Regions from separate parts of the Homo sapiens genome. Here region 1 is linked to region 2. Evidence: promoter capture Hi-C in human tissues and cell types (Jung and others, 2019). All regions are on one chromosome and are shown on one strand. Each heading gives the region's core, a stretch centred on a gene start or on the middle of the fragment in contact. The rest is flanking DNA. Distances are from core to core; before and after follow the strand shown.

Region 1 (2,700 bases), core at 106-2,605, 100 kb before region 2:
AGTTTCAGCACAGCCACCCGGCCGTCACCCCCGACGCCTACTCTCTGAACTCTCTCCACCACTCGCAACAGTACTACCAGCAGATCCACCACGGGGAGCCCACCGACTTTATTAACCTGCACAATGCGCGGGCGCTCAAGTCGTCCTGCCTGGACGAGCAGAGGCGGGAGCTGGGCTGCCTCGATGCCTACCGCCGCCATGACCTGTCCCTCATGAGCCATGGCTCTCAGTATGGAATGCACCCAGATCAAAGACTCCTGCCAGGGCCCAGCCTGGGGCTGGCCGCCGCGGGAGCAGACGACTTGCAGGTAAATAAGCATGCAGCGAATTTGTCTGCTCCCTCCCCTCTTCGCCCTCCCCCTGCCGCCCCATTAATGCTCCGACTGTAAAGCGTCTCTCTTTCTCTCTCTCTTCTCCTCTCTCTCTCTCTCTCTCTCTCTCTCTCACACACACACACACACACACACACACACACCACTTATGGAAAGTTATCAAAACAATTAGAGGAGGAGTGTGCCCGTTCTCTTCCTCTCATTGGATCCAAGCATTTCACCTGGAAGTGCGGGAGTCCGGGCGGCTGCGGCCCTCCATCTTTGGTTTGTCCTCACAGAAGTCTTTTGTGAATCAACATTTGTGACCCTGAGGGGATGAGGTGGAGGAGATCGAGGAGTCTGGGGTTGGGCCAACCGGACTCAGAGTAAGATCCAATAAATTGATGACCAATCGTACCCTCAATCTCCGCACTTTACAGGGTCTTCCGAGGCGTCCCAGGTGTTTGTCTCAGACTGAGCTTGTGGAGATCTTACTACAAACAGGCTTGTTCTAAGGAAATTGTTGGGACCCTAAGCTTGAACAAAAGTTTCACCAAATACACTAGATATCTGTGGAAAGTAAAGAATCGCAAATGAAAGTCTCAAAGTTCTACCCCAAGGAAATAATCCGCACAGTGCACTTTGCCAGGGTGTAGGGTTGAGTTTAATTCTCTCCGCCTGACGTGCACTCAAAACCGCAGCCCAGTTAGGTAATTTACAAGTTTATTTTTGCTCTTCCAGCCATTACATTTTACGTAAAATGCACCTCCTTAAAAAGATAAAAATGAGGCAGTAACGGTAATGAAAGAGGGAAAAAATAAAGAAGGAAGGAAGGAAGGAGAAAAGGAAGGAAGGAAGGGAGAAAAAGAAGAAGGAAGGAAAGAAGGCAGGTATTCAGACACTGTGGAGGCCATCACTCAATCAGATGATCTCTCTTCTACTTTATTTCTTAACACGTGTTTGCACATTCTTTACCAAAGATAGAATTTATAATTATGCAATTATGTTGCCATAGGCATATTTCAAACAAATGAGCCCACAAATACCCAGAAAATAATTCAAAAGACCCATAGTTTTAGCTCCTTTTAGCTAAAAGTGCAGTTCTACCTGTGAGTTCCTACTTTTTGTGTCTGCACAAAGCTGGCCACCTTCTTCACACTCTCCAGGACAAATAGGGAAATATTCTAAGAACATAAGTTGGAGACGTAAGAGATCCCTTGTTGCGCACAAAAAATCTTTCCTCCTCATTTACCTTTGAGCAAGAGATTATTTTTAAATTAAAGTGAAAGCCCTTACAGTCCCAACAAAGAGCCATAGCAGTAAGACCGGTGCACAAGAAAAAAGATTTGGTTCCATAAACCTTGACTTTCTACATTTATATTCACAAAATAATTTTATACGCTCAGGGCATTTTTACATTTTTCACAAGGATCCCCTTATGTCTCAAGAGGGAAAAAAATCTGCCATTCAGTGCTTAGCTCAACTAAAACCTATTTACTCCTTTTAATAGCCGCGTCTGCTGCTGATTTTTTTGTATCTGTACAAATTTTTTTTCTGTGCTAGGCACAAAGCCGAGCATTTTTCAAAAGAGCGGATTAGAACATTTGCAAGCACTAGACAAAGAGCGAATCCCGTGCAAAAGGACACCGTAGTTTATCCAATTTTCGACTTAGTGCCATTCAACTGGTCATTTATGCAATGTCATCCGACCAAACAACATGTTTTACTTATGAGGGGAAAAAGTTTGTTAAGTGAAGAAACCAAGATTCGTTTCTTCTAAGAAAATAAACATTGTAACCGTGCGCCAGAGAGTGGGAGGGAAAGTGATTCACTGCTTTGGAGAGCTTTGAGACCATTTATCATCTACATTTCAGATATTTTGAAAGCTTTTCTTCAGCCTATCTCTTTTTCCATATACGAATGTCCTTTTTCTCTTTTATTACTCATACTGAAGCAAAATTACTCATACTAAGGGACACAGTCCAAGATACTAGAAGAAATATAGTACTGTGTGTGATATACGTTTATACCTTTACATAGATATATCCATGTATGTATATATCATAATATATATCCATCTTTATCTATTTAATCTATGAATGCTATGTAGCAAGTTTGTAAATCTGACAAGTTATTTTCTTCCACTGTTCTTGCTCCAAGTTGGCAGAATGAAAAAGAAAGAGTCATAGCTACTTTTAAAACAAGAAATGGGGAGGGAGTGTGTGGGAGAAACCCGTCTCTCTCCTTTTATTTCTTCCTTTTTAAAACATTCATCAGCATATGCCTCATTTCAAATGCAACAAATGTAAATATACTTTTCCCTGCACAGAATTTTAAGTGAAAGTCCAATGGTTTGGAGGGCGGTCTAAGTCTGCCTAACAGATGCAAA
Region 2 (2,700 bases), core at 201-2,700:
AGCCCTGTACTCAAACAGCGTCCATCCCTGTTCGCGCAGAGCTGCACACAGCAGTCCTGGATTTAAAGACAATCACCCTTTGCAGATTCACTCTCACCAGGCTTAATAACTTCCACCCCAAATTGCCCCATCCCTCCTCGGTCCCTCCTGGCATTTCTTTTCTGTCCCAGGCGCAGAGATCCTCTTCTGGGCGTCTGTTCCGGCTATGAGAAGCTCTCCGCACCCTGAAAGGGAGTAGAAAAACAGAGGGGATGGGAAAGGGGGAACAGGGGAACAGATGAGTATTCATTTCATGATAAAATTCAGAATCCCTGCGCCTTAAATGGTGCCCATTTTCTAAGTCTGGTTAATATTGTTCTTGTTGCTGATGATGTTTTCCTTTTTAAAAACTATATGAATCATCTTATTAAGAAAAATTATACAAAAAAAAGAAGAAACTCCACATGCACTAAAATATTTTTCACTATCTCTTTGAAGACATTCTGCTTAAACCTTTTCAAAGATTCGGGTGGCCCTTTCTTGACTCTCCATGATTAAAACCACTTACAAGTCATACACAACAGATGCAAATATAAAATGTCCTTGGCCTCTGCAAAAAAGGCTCAAAATTAACCTTGTCTGAACGTGTGCGTACGTTGCTTCCAACATCTGAAAAAAACTTGATAAAATGGAGACTCCAGCCAAGAGGAATGGTGCATGGAATCCGTTGAAAATGCATACAAACAACACCTAAAATAACAAGCAGCACAAACTGAGGTGTATTTAAGTTTCCAAAGGTTTTAGGTAAAATGACCAGAAAATATTAGAAATGGTCATCAACGGTGGCTAGCTTTTTTGTTCTATGGTGACAGAGATAAAGTTAAAAAAAAAAAAGTTGTGTAGCCATCAACACAGAGATAGTCCTTAAAATCCCCCATATCCAGCCTTTCAAAATACTCTCTTCCGGAACATACATGAATAGGAGGGAGCTTTTGTGTTTAAAAATCTTGGTAAGTGTCCCCCTTTAAAATCTACATAGAAAATAGGGGACTGATGGCCCCTGGTTTCTCATTATGAATTGCAAAGACTTCAGTTAGTGGCTACAATGATGTGTCATTTTCGATATAGAAGTTATAAAATGTATATATTATATTAATCACCCTGAACAACTCTTTGTTAAATGCACATTTGGAGTCTGCAGACTGTGTGACCCAGAGGTGCTTATATAACTATATGTGGGTGTCTGGGTGTAAATACGGGTTTATGATTTTTATAGTATATATGTCTGTGGGTTGCATCTAACTCCTGTGTGTGCAATAATGTTTTTTCTCTTTGCTGAGGCTTACTTGTCCAGCCTATTGTTTGAGACAACAGATATAAGTTGCGATGGGAGAGGAGCGTCGGATTTGGTGTGTATCCCCCATTTCCAATTATAGATGGATCATTACAGACAGCGGAGTCCTGAGAAGCCAGACATCTGCTCCTCACATGAATGCACTCACCTCCTAGAGACCAGGCTGCCATCATGCTCTGGAAGCTTGTGGAGAATGTCAAGTACGAAGATATCTATGAGGTGAGTCGACACCCCCAGATGCACCTTAGAGCTTTGCAGATAGAGAATTTGAGCTTCTTGATACCCCAAATGATATATATTTTTAAGCTATTTACTCGTAGATTTCCGGTCGGTTTTCTCAGCTTTTTTTAACTTTTAGAAAAGCTGGCTAGGGAAGACTTCGCTGCTCTGAAAAGGGACTTTAAGGCTGAAATCTGACAACTTTAATTTAGGAATGTTTTTATTTATTTTATTTTTCTTTCCCTTTTCCTCGCCTCCCCCCACCCCACCCCACCCTTTTAAGCTCTGATGGGGAATGTGGTGCTACTGAATGTGGGCACGCTCTCAGAGAAAATCGAGATTCTGATAAAGTCAGGGGCTTTTCTCGTTTTAAGTGTGGAAGAGAATTGGGTTTTCAAGCCTCATTTGTAACAGACTCGGGCTTTTAATTTTTATTTTCAATAAAATTTCTGAAATTGATAACAAATGGTTCCAAGTAGAGGACAGAGAATTAGCGGGAAAGAAGTAGATGGCTGGAGATATGGATGGATAGAGCAAAATAGAAGTCGTAGCAGTTTATTAGTTTCTGTTTTCTTGTGTTTTGCTTCCTTGAGGGTCACTGCGTCCGAACAGAAATCGCAGCCGCCTCCTGTGTGGGCATCTTTCACGGAAATTTCTGCCCACGTTCAATGCGTACGGGTCTCTAGCACTGAGGCTAGCTCAACTCTTCGGGGCAGGAGAAGTTGCGCCCAGCCAGGAGGACGCCAGCCGCCTCCGGGGCCCGGACCGCGCTCGCCAAAGCCCTTTTCCGGCTCGGGCGAGGGCTGACGCGGCCAGACGGCTCCGCTACTCGCGGGCGAGGCGGACTAGGCGGACGAGGCGGCCGAGGCGGGCGAGGTGGGAGAGGCGGGCGAGGTGGGAGAGGCGGCCGAGGCGGGCGAGGCGCGGGGCGCGCGGCGGGCCAGGCTGGGGACCGGGAAGCCCGCGGAGCCTCGCTTTTAAGCGGAATGGTCTGGGACAGCCCCAGGTGGTTGCCAGGGGAAGGGAGGAAGGGAAGGTTCTGCTGAGACGTCGAGGTTGGAAATAAAAACTTCGGAAAGGCGAAGCGGATTTAGAAAAGGAGGGAAGTCGAGGCGGGCGAAGCGGGCCATGGAGATTGCTAAGAGGAA

Evidence for each region. The method cuts DNA at HindIII sites, captures the fragments that hold promoters and counts their contacts. A contact is called where the count stands out against the background at its distance.
Region 1: a fragment that was not itself captured here is called in contact with the fragment with the promoter of TFAP2B in region 2 in 4 of the 25 tissues and cell types used here (H1 embryonic stem cells, liver, neural progenitor cells and 1 more).

The regions. Positions count from the first base shown.
Region 1 is chr6:50,715,306-50,718,005 of GRCh38, forward strand. It overlaps TFAP2D (transcription factor AP-2 delta), which reads left to right. Exons shown (of 8, transcript NM_172238.4): 2 at 1-308. Among named protein-coding and RNA genes, the nearest start is that of TFAP2D, 3.1 kb to the left of the region's middle. RefSeq lists enhancers at 1-485, 2,226-2,700. The HindIII fragment of the contact is 3,132 bases long and covers 1-2,700 here.
Region 2 is chr6:50,817,421-50,820,120 of GRCh38, forward strand. TFAP2B (transcription factor AP-2 beta) reads left to right here and starts at 1,451. Exons shown (of 7, transcript NM_003221.4): 1 at 1,451-1,552. The coding sequence starts at 1,472. It overlaps LOC124901490 (a long non-coding RNA gene), which reads right to left and starts at 1,606. Exons shown (of 2, transcript XR_007059923.1): 1 at 1,482-1,606; 2 at 1-224. The HindIII fragment of the contact is 7,987 bases long and covers 1-2,700 here.